3 separate regions of the Homo sapiens genome follow, and all the other regions are linked to region 2. Evidence: promoter capture Hi-C in 16 types of primary human blood cells and fetal thymus (Javierre and others, 2016). All regions are on one chromosome and are shown on one strand. Each heading gives the region's core, a stretch centred on a gene start or on the middle of the fragment in contact. The rest is flanking DNA. Distances are from core to core; before and after follow the strand shown.

Region 1 (3,519 bases), core at 958-3,457, 2.7 Mb before region 2:
CCTCATCCTCCCCAGTAGCTGGGGTTATAGGCCCATGCCACCACGCCCAGCTAATTTTTGTATTTTTAGTAGAGATGGGGTTTCACTACGTTGGCGAGGCTGGTCTCAAACACCTGACCTCAGGTGGTCCACCTGCCTCGGCCCCCACAAAGTGAGATTGGGATTACAGGCGTGAGCCACCGCACCCAGCTTTTCTTTTCCCTTCCTTTTCATTCCTTCCTTCATTATTGGGGTTGGAGAGAGTGGATGTAATTCTTACCTTAGTTAATTTCTAAGACTTTAATGACTGCTTTCTAAGTTAATAATTCAGGTGTTCTTTTTTTTTTTTTCTCTTAATGGTGATAAAGTAGACCAAAAGGATGGCTCAGCAAGTGAAGTACCCAGTGAACTCTCTGAACGCCCAAAAGGATTTTATGTGGAAACAGTTGTCACATATAAAGAAGATTTTGTTCCAAATACAGAAAAGATCCTCAACTATTGGAAATCATGGACTGGTGGCCCTGGTACAGAACCATGACTGGCTGCTGAATTCTGAAAACCAGGACTTGGTTCAACATTTAAATTTGATAGTTGCCCTGATTCCCATTTTGGGTTTGTGAAAAGTGTATGTATTTAAATTTGCTGTAAAACATAATCACTAATAATATGCAATAAATATTTTCTTGAAGGAAACTATCTGCGTTTTCTTTTTTTTTTTTTTTTTTGAGACGGAGTCTTGCTGTGTCACCCAGGCTGGAGTGCAGTGGCTCGATCTCGGCTCACTGCAAGCTCCGCCTCCCAGGTTCATGCCATTCTCCTGCCTCAGCCTCCCGAGTAGCTGGGACTAAAGGCGCCTGCCACCATGTCTGGCTAATTTTTTGTGTTTTCAGTGGAGACAGGGTTTCACCGTGTTAGCCAGGATGGTCTCCATCTCCTGACCTTGTGATCCGCCTGCCTCAGCCTCCCAAAGTGCTGGGATTACAGGTGTGAGCCACGGTCCCCGGCCTACTATCTGCATTTTCAAGAGGTGTTCCTCTGTATTTGCATGAGTGAAAGATTGCTGTGAAATTTCACATAGAGCTTCCATAAGCTTGATTTCCTGAAACTAGTTAATGTAGATTTATATTTCTTTCATGTTGCTATTAGGCACAGCTTTAGTGGTCGCTTTAAGGTTAGTTTCAGCAAATCTCCATATTCACTTTGGGATTCACAGTAGCCCTTTGGGTACTACTGCGTACTGGGTAAGTATGATATAAATTTGATTGTAACTTCTGAATTAAACAGACTGGACCTATTCTTTAGGACCAGTGCACATACCCCTCATTCCTTCAGCAAGTGTGGATTACCCACCAACTGTGGCCAGTGCTATTCTAATGCTGGGAATGCAGTCAGGACGACATGATTGATGCTGAACCAGTTTCCTCAGTGGTCTCTTGGTTGCAGGCAACAAACACAAGTGAGCTTAAATCAAAAGTGGGTGTTTATAAAAAACGTGTATTGGTAGCTCAGAATTAAAGCAGAGAGTATGGGCCAGGAGCGGTGGCTCACGCCTGTACTCCCTGCACTTTGGGAGGCCGAGGGGCGGATCACAAGGTCAAGAGATCGAGACCGTCTTGGCCAGCATGGTGAAACCCTGTCTCTATTAAAAATACAAAAATTAGCTGGGCATGGCACCGCGCACCTGTAGTCCCAGCTACTTGGGAGGCTGAGGCAGGAGAATCGCTTGAATCTGGGAGGCGGAGGTTGCAGTGAGCTGAGATCGCACCACTGCACTCCAGCCTGTTGACAGCGAGATTCCATCTCAAAAAAAAAAAAAAAAAGCAGTATGTTGTCTTCAGAAGGCCTGACACTGGGACCAGAATGCAGGCAGCCACTTGTTGAGCCTGCCTGGGCTCTTGGCCTTGCTTTTCTTATTGCACACCAGCTGCTTTTCTCACCTTTCTGGAGTAATACAAATATCCCAAGAAGATACTACCTCCCATGTGCAGTGCCAAAGTCTGACCAGCCTCTCCTCAACCTGGTCTTTGGCTTCCACCCTTGCGAGAGACTCAGTTCAGTTTTTATCAGATCCCTGCCTATGGATTATAGAGTACTGCCTCAGTTATGAATAAAGTGGCATTTGTTTCTCATTTAGGTAGTGTTTTCCTGTTCATAGCTGTTGGGACCCTGTGAGTAGAGATGTGATGTGTGGTAGGACAGGAATTGGGCATTTCAGGGTTCCTCTACAGTACTATGACCTTCAGACCCTCATCTTGATTTCTCATTGGTGTCAGTTCCACCATTATGGGTGGCCTGAGCAGTGCTGTGGTGCAGTCAGCCTTAGTGACAAGGATTCCAAAATCACAAGTAACAGCTCCAGATGCTGGTAGCAGAGACTCAGCTTCCCAAGGGATATCAGGTCAAGCATGGATTCGTGCCAATTGGCTGTGTATTCCAGTGGACCATCTTGGTTGGCATCAAACTGATGAATGAGAAGCAGTGTACGACAGTAGATGGGGAAGGTGAGAAGCAAGTGAATCAGAAGTATGGGAGAAATGGGAACAGTAGCATGAACGTTTTGGAAGACATTTCCTAACATGAGGGCTTCCAGAGAAACAAAGGGCAAGGGCTGAGGGGCTGTGGCACTTGGCAGGTGAGAGTTGTTAATAGAGCACACCGAGGATAAACAGCTGAACTTCTACTCTCACCTGGCAGTCTACCCAGGATTCATACACTTGTGGGGCTTAAGGGGACATTTGGGTTAGCTTTCCTTGGGACTTGGCTGGGTTTCTTTGCTAGATCTAATTTATTCTCTTATTTCAGCCCAGCGTTCTCCTGAACTCAAGATCCATGTCCATCTAGCATTGCCACTTGGATATCTAGCCACCTCAGCTTTGTCCATAACTTAAATTGCTGTCATCACCCACAAGGCTGCTCTTCCTTCCGTTCTCTTTCTCAGAGAGTACTCAGTTCCTCAAATTAGGAACCTATCATTCTAGACTTCTCCCTCTTCTTGTTCCTTCTCCTTCCTCCAGCCACCAGGTCCCATCATTTCTACTGCAAATATTCCACTCCATTCCCACCTTCCCATTCCCTTTACCACTACCTTACTTAAATCCTCCATCCTCTTTGCTTATGTAGCCTCAACTTCCTACTCTCTTTGTCTCTACTTGGAGTCCCCTCCAATTGGTTTCTACAGTATTAGCCAGCATGACTTTTTTGAAATTAATTTTTATATTTTTAACAAAGCAACAAATGCATTAAAAAATTAAATAATGATCAAAAGTTTGTAACCAAAAAAACAGTTCCTGCTTTATCCCTCCTTGCTTTCAACTATTAGGTTTTTTTTTTTTTTTTTTTGGTATTTACGTCCACATTTCTAAATAATAAGCTTTTACTAATATCTTTAATTTATCAATCATGTATGGGATTTATTAATGAGGATTTGATCCTCCTTTCCAACTGACTAACCAATAAAACTATTGCATATTTTTGATGAATCAATAATTAATATTTACCCTGTTTTAACTATGCAAACATAGTTTGTTGATAAGCCAAGTA
Region 2 (3,461 bases), core at 962-3,461:
TAGCCCAAGCCAGCTTAGGGCAAAAGGAAACTTTTGGCTGGGAGTGGTGGCTCACACCTGGAATCCCAGCACTTTGGGAGGCCAAGGCGGGCGGATCACAAGGTCAAGAGATTGAGACCATCCTGGCCAACATGGTAAAACCCCATCTCTACTAAAAATACAAAAATTAGCCGGGCGTGGTGGCGCACATTGGTAGTCCCGGCTACTTGGGAGGCTGAGGCAGGAGAATCGCTTGAACCTGGGAGGTGGAGGTTGCAGTGAACCGAGATGGTGCCACTGCACTCCAGCCTGGCAACAGAGTGAGACTCTGTCTTAAAAAAAAAAAAAAAAAAAAATTTGGCTCACAGAATCAAAGGACAGACTTAATCAAACTGCAGGAAGAGAGGGATTTAACTGGAACCAGGGAATTAACCCTGCTTCTCTCATTGCCTACTGGCAACAAGTCCCAATTCTTATCTTTTAGCGTTCACGCACTGGAAAGATGCAGTCTTAAATTTCTTATGGTTCAAAGCTCAAAAATGCTGGTAAGGCTGGGTGCAGTGGCTCACACCTGTAATCCCAGCACTCTGGAAGGCCGAGGTGGGCAGATCACCTGAGGTTAGGAGTTCGAGACCAGCCTGGCCAACATGGTGAAACCCTGTCTCAACTAAAAACACAAAAATCAGCGGGGTGTCATGGCAGGCGCCTCTAATCCCAGCTACTCGGGAGGCTGAGGCAGGAGAATCGCTTGAACCCGGGAGGTGGAGGTTGCAGTGAGCCTGGATCTTGCCACTGCACTCCAGCCTGGATGACTGAGACTCCGTCTGAAAAAACAAAAACAAAACAATAAACCCTCCCAACCCGCCAAAATGCTGGTTAAGGATTCTAAATGGCTCAACTTGGCCAGCTGTCTATCCCTGAACTGCCTATGGTGTACATGTTCCTATAACAGCACCTCCCAGGGAAACCAGAGGGGCTGCTTCCAGGTAAAAGGAGGAATTTCACCATAGACATAATACTTTGGAATAGTTTTGGCTATCCTTAAGTAAAACACGGGATGACTATTTCTCTAATTTCCACACTAGTAGTTTAAACAAAGTAGTCATCAGACCACAGAGGAGGGGGCAATAAATACTGCCTGTGAGGTAACTCGGCGAAATACTTTCACAGAGGCCTCATGAGGTGAGCATTTAGCATCGTGTGTGATGTGTGTCAAACCAAGAGGGGATTCAGGGAGACTTCCAGGCTTGAGCAAACGGACAAATATACCTCCTCTTCCAGACCTCTCCTTTCATATGGAAAAAATTCGTTTGGGACCACCAGAAAACAAAAGATAAAAGTATCGTGTTAGAACAAGGATGGATTAAAAATGACCTTTGCTTGAACTGAAACAGAAGCTATGTGCATAAGTGACTTAACTCCTCTGTAACTTGGCTTTCTTATCATTTACACGAGGGTGCTAACAGTACCCTCACAAGGTTCAAGTGAAGATTACATAGGACAATCCCTTAGTCAATGTCTTGGTACACTGTAAAGGCTCAGTAAATGCTGGAAAATCATATTAGCAACTATTTTATACCCGTAATTGTAGCTGGAAGATTGTATTGGATGCTAAATACCGGCTAGATTCCATTCGGTAACTATCATAATTATTTATTTGCATAACAATCAAATTATTGGTGCAAAGCAGCCATTATTACTGTAAAATGCTTTAAAATGCTCCTTTTGATAGTCCAGGTACGTACTGCAGCACAAAACTAGGAGAAACCAGGAAATGGAAGTAACGAGTAAGTTTGGATGCTTCGATTCTACCCTAGATTGAGACGGGTGAGCATAGAGGCAAAAAAAGACATTTTCTTCCAAACAAGAGGTGACCAAACGGGCAAGGGAGACCTCCTCCCGGGCATGCAGAGCGCAGCGATTCTGTGCCCAGGGAGCCGGAGGGCTGGGGCTGGGAGATCCCGGCGGAGCCCCGGCAGAGCAGTCGCCCGTGAGCCCCCGCAACTCAGACGCGCTCGGCCTCGCGCTCCGGGGCTGGGACCACCGAGGGCGAGCTGCAGCCTTCGCCACCCGGTCCGCCGCCGGACTCCGCCTCCCACAAACAGCCCGGCAAGGCCCTTTTCCGCCGCTCCCTCATCCAGCGAAGCCTCCTTCCCAGCTTCCCCGGCGGCGGCGCCGTGACGTCACTTCCGTTCTCCAGCGCGCACGTGGGAGGAAGTGCTGGTGCCCTCTGCCGCTGCTCCCGTCTCTTTGGTTACGCTCGTCAGCCGGTCGGCCGCCGCCTCCAGCCGTGTGCCGCTATGGGAGTCCCGGCGTTCTTCCGCTGGCTCAGCCGCAAGTACCCGTCCATCATAGTCAACTGCGTGGAAGAGAAGGTGAGGAGGCGCCAGGCGGCCGCCACACTCGAGCCCGGGCCCCCGGCACGTCTAGGCCGCGGCCCATGGGCTCCGCCGCCTGCCCCCGGGGAGCCTTGCCGGAGCTCGCGCCCTGCTGCCAGCCTCGCGAGCAGTCGCAGCCCCACACGCGATGGGACGCGGGCTGTGGGATTCAGCACCCCGGGGGCGAGGAATTCAGGACCCTCGGCGGGGCAAGGGCCTATAGGGTTCCGAACTCGCAGGAGGGTCGCTCCTCCCCTACTCGCTTTTTCCCGGCACCGGAAGGCCCCGCCCACTGCTTTGTTTCCTCTCCAGACCGCGCATTTTGGGTCTCGGAAGAGGTTCAGAGGCTGTTGTTGAGCAATGCATGCCAGGTCAGCTGAGCTAGCGGGTTATGGATGCACGGATTCGGAGGCCAGCTTTTTGACAACCTTGTAAAGGAATCCCTGGCGGCGACCTTTTCGTTGTTTACCAATTGTGCCGGAAAGGTTTTCTCCTAGTGTTCAGGACCATTTGTTGTTCTGGTTAGATTGGACGCTGAAAGCAGTATGTCAGGTCCAGGATGAGCGCTATAGAATTCTGAGAAGTTACCCTTCTCTGTGTGCCCTGACTACTGAACGGGGTGGGTGCTTGTTGAAAATTTCAAGATTACTGGATGTACTTGAGCAGTACAATTTTTGTTGTTAGTTAATACGTAAGTAGATTTTTGGCCATTATTGAGTTTTGTTTTTATTGTTTTCGTCATTCCATGCGGATTCGATTTTGTGCTCTTAATTAGAATTTCTGGATTGGAAACGTTCAGAGGCACATCACGCGTACCTCACTCCTTAGTTTTTGAAGGCAGTGCTTGCCTGTCACTGTGAACTTATTTCTGCTTTTTTTTTTTTTTTTAACTTTCTTGGCTTCTATCCAAGGAGGAACCAAAAGCCTTGTCTTAGTGACATTCCCACTATTTCTTGTTTTTTTCAAAAAGCAACTGCTAAATTGAATACTTGTTTCCTTTGTAAAATTTTAATCGAACTTTATTGAACTTTACTTGCACGTGGGTTAAACAAAAAGCAACAGTTCTTGCTCTACCCCTTCTCATCCCATTTCTCCACCTTTAAC
Region 3 (3,582 bases), core at 463-2,962, 2.8 Mb before region 2:
TATAGAAGATAGTAATGCAAATGTTCCCTGCCCACAACAATGAAAACTATTCCTGTCCACAGCAATGCAAATCAATTTTGTGTGATAGAGAATATGTCACTATAAATCAAATTCTCCTTAGAACCAGTCTGAACATCCCTCCTGGTCGTAGGGATTAATTAAAATCAATGAATGAGTTAAGTAAGATCTTTGGCACATGTTCATTTTATATTTGCATGAAGGCCATAATTTTACCTTTTGAAACACTTTAACAGTTTTGAAGCTTTCACCAACATCCCAATGGATTCACCTGACAGAACCAGGTAAACCACATTACTGAAGAACACCCCATGGGGCTAAGCCCAAGCACATTTTTTCCTGGCTCCGGGAGTGAATACCAAGTAGCAATAGTACTACAGCGTTGCTGACTTTCTCCCTAGGTTTCTTTCTCCTCCTTACTGATTTTGGGTTTTGTTTCTGATTCGCCCACAGCTGGCGGATTTTTCCCCATGAATGGCGACACCAATTAGGAACTCGCGGGAAACCCCGTTGCTCCCTTTCCCCTGGCTGGCAGCGCGGAAGCCGCACGATGCCTGGAGTTCCTGTAAACCACGTGAACCAGCGGGACTTCGTCAGAGCTCTGGCAGCCTTTCTCAAAAAGTCCGGGAAGCTGAAAGTCCCCGAATGGGTGGACACCGTCAAGCTGGCCAAGCACAAAGAGCTTCCTCCCTACGTTGAGAACTGGTTCTACACACGAGCCGGTTCCACAGCGCGGCACCTGTACCTCCAGGGTGGCGCTGGGGTTGGCTCCATGACCAAGATCTATGGGGACGTCAGAGAAACGGCGTCATGCCCAGCCACTTCGGCCGAGGCTTCAAGAGTGTCCTCCGCCGGGTCCTCCAAGCCCTGGAGGGGCTGAAAATGGTGGAAAAGGACCAAGATGGGGGCCGCAAACTGACACCTCAGGGACAGAGAGATCTGGGCAGAATTGCCGGACAGGTGGCAGCTGCCAACAAGAAGCATTGGAACAAACCATGCTGGGTTAATACATTGCCTCATTCAGAAAAAAAAAAAAAAATTAGGAACTAGGTTTTACATTCTGAACATTTGGTGATCTCTTTAAGTGAATTAATAGTTTTTAGAGATCTATTCTCTTTTGGATAAGAGATGATGAAAAATCTGGTTTGTTAGTCTTTTTGTTTGTTTGCCTTTTTGTCTACTTATGAGTTCAAATCAGTTAAGACTTCCATGCCCATTGGGAAGGAGAACAGCTTTTTGTTATCTAGTCCACTGAATTTTTATGTTTCTGAATTTACTTTCGACCTGTGGCCAAAGTTGCAGAACCAAAGCTATATGCTATGTGTCTATGTGTCTTCCCGGCTGTAATCAACAAAGGCCTTCCCCTCTTGTTGTGGGAGTAAAAAAATCTTACTACCTTTGTAAAGTTTTAATAAGTTATATTATTTCATGTCTTAAAGGAGCTCTGTTATAATTCACTTATGGAAACAAACACATGTAAATCAATTATTTCTAAAATTCCAGAAAATAAGTAAATTAAACTTATGCATGCAAAATTTCTTAAAAATGCTGAAACCATCCTGACAGGGTTAACAAGATTACAAGCCAGCCTTTAGGCAGGTTAGTTAGGCACTGACCAGGGTGCATTGGTGCCCTTCAATTCACTTCCCTGCAGCTGCTAACTAACCAAAAGCCTTGCAGCACACTGATCACCTACTCCCTGATTGCTCCTATCCACAGAATCTCTGACACTAGCTCTTTGTACCCAGGAATTGCTTAAGGTATTTTTCAGATCCTGAATTCCCACAAAACAGCTGATGCCAAACTGTCTAGGGATCCCCACCAGGAAGGGCACAGTGGCTCACGCCTGTAATCTTAGCACTTTGGGAGGCCAAGGTGAGAGGATCGCCTGAAGCCCGGAGTTTGAGACTAGCCTGGGCAACAAAGTGAGACCCTGCTTTACAAAAAAAAAATTTTTTTAAATAAATAAATAAAGACCTCCACCAAGAAACAACACTGGAATGAAGTTTCTTCATCTCCCTGTCCCATGACTTCACCTCTCACTTCCTGACCAATCAGAAATCCCCACACTTTAGCCCATTGCCCCTCCAGACTTCTTAAAAATGCCATCTCTAATCTCTTGGGGAGGTGGATTTGAGGATTGCTCTTGTCTCCTCATTTGGCTGCCACTTGATTATGGAACTCTTTATCTGCTGCAACTCCTATTCTTTCTGTTACCGCACAATGGACAATCGAACCTGATGGTCCTATAACAATCTTTCTTACAGAAATTGCTAGTACAGAAAGAATCCAGGTTCAAATAATCAAGGCAAATCTTTGGCGAATAATATTAAGTTTTGGTTAAAAAAAATCCCAGCTATGTCTTTTCTCAGTGTTAAGTATTATACATGTGTACATTTTGAGTTTGTTTCCTTACCGAGAATAATTAATCTGAACTTCCTAAATTTATAAAAGTTTACTATTGATAAGCTAATATTAACATTACATTGTTTAAGATCCTGAAAAATGTGAATTTGTTCAACAAAACTGAATCATTCTCACATTTAACAGTAATTGTTTCTTTGTGCCTTAAACTATTAATAATTTCTATGATCTGTAGATAACTTAAAACTTAGTATTAAATTGAGCTAATTAATGGATACTTCTTGGATGCCTAGATATGTTCTTGCATAATTTTATGTTTACATCGTTTTGCTTATTTTTATATGCTACAGAGACTACAACTCTGAGTCACAGTAATGATGTGTTCATGTTTGCCACTTGTCAGCGTGTGTAAAAATGGTTGTGGTGGCTTTATACAGTTGTGTTCTATCGCGCCTTTTGCAGCAACATGGATGCATCTGGAGGCCATGATCCTAAAAGAATTAACGCAGAAGCAGAAAACCAAATACATGTTCTCACTTGAAAGTGGGAGCTAAGCATTGGGCACACATGGACACAAAGGTGACATTAATAGACGCTGGGGACTACTAGAGTGGGGAGGGAGGCAGGGAGGGGCTGAAAAACTTGGGTACTATGCTCAGTATCTGGGTGACCAGCTCATTCGAATTCGAAACCTCATAGCCAGGTAACAAATACGCAGTGTACCCCCTAAATCTAAACGTTGGAATTATTTTTTAAAAGAAAGTTATGTTCCATGTATTTCTAAGCTTACTCTCCTAAAATGGTTGAATATTACAGTTCTCAATTATTTATCTCCATGTAGAAGGATGACAGGGACTGTGCGCTAGTGCCAGCCTCCGCTGAGAGCGCCAAGACATTACAGCAAGCGACGGTAGGAGAGCTTGTAACGTGAAGCACCACCACACCTCTGTACTTCAAACTTAACCACAGAGACCGACTCCCAAACCAGCAAGTGCGTAAGCGCCGCCGCGCTCACCACCCGCCCCGCCCCTTCCGCATGCTAATGCCTTCTTCCGGCAGCCTTAGTTTCTTCCAACCAGTGCAGCTCCCTGTTCCGCGAGCATACGTCATCGTTCTCGCTTTCCGGTAGCTAAGGCGATCAGCGGGACTTCCCACTGAGACGAGCGGATGTCATATTGTATCAGGGCGAACCTCTGAGGA

The links. The method cuts DNA at HindIII sites, captures the fragments that hold promoters and counts their contacts. A CHiCAGO score of 5 or more calls a contact.
Region 1: a fragment that was not itself captured here is called in contact with the fragment with the promoter of XRN2 in region 2 in 1 of 17 cell types (total CD8 T cells); the score reaches 7.0 in total CD8 T cells.
Region 3: a contact is called between a fragment that was not itself captured here and the fragment with the promoter of XRN2 in region 2, in 1 of 17 cell types (total CD4 T cells). The highest score is 6.4, in total CD4 T cells.

Annotation. Positions count from the first base shown.
Region 1 is chr20:18,568,889-18,572,407 of GRCh38, forward strand. SMIM26 (small integral membrane protein 26) reads left to right here. Exons shown (of 2, transcript NM_001348957.2): 2 at 348-672. The coding sequence ends at 517. Among named protein-coding and RNA genes, the nearest start is that of SMIM26, 3.2 kb to the left of the region's middle. The HindIII fragment of the contact is 2,280 bases long and covers 1,068-3,347 here.
Region 2 is chr20:21,301,120-21,304,580 of GRCh38, forward strand. XRN2 (5'-3' exoribonuclease 2) reads left to right here and starts at 2,212. Exons shown (of 30, transcript NM_012255.5): 1 at 2,212-2,354. The coding sequence starts at 2,280. RefSeq lists a silencer at 1,910-2,039 and an enhancer at 2,760-2,809. The HindIII fragment of the contact is 6,284 bases long and covers 1-3,461 here.
Region 3 is chr20:18,504,065-18,507,646 of GRCh38, forward strand. It overlaps the pseudogene RPS19P1 and a transcript of SEC23B not described here. Among named protein-coding and RNA genes, the nearest start is that of SEC23B, 2.1 kb to the right of the region's middle. RefSeq lists an enhancer at 3,417-3,582. The HindIII fragment of the contact is 2,905 bases long and covers 261-3,165 here.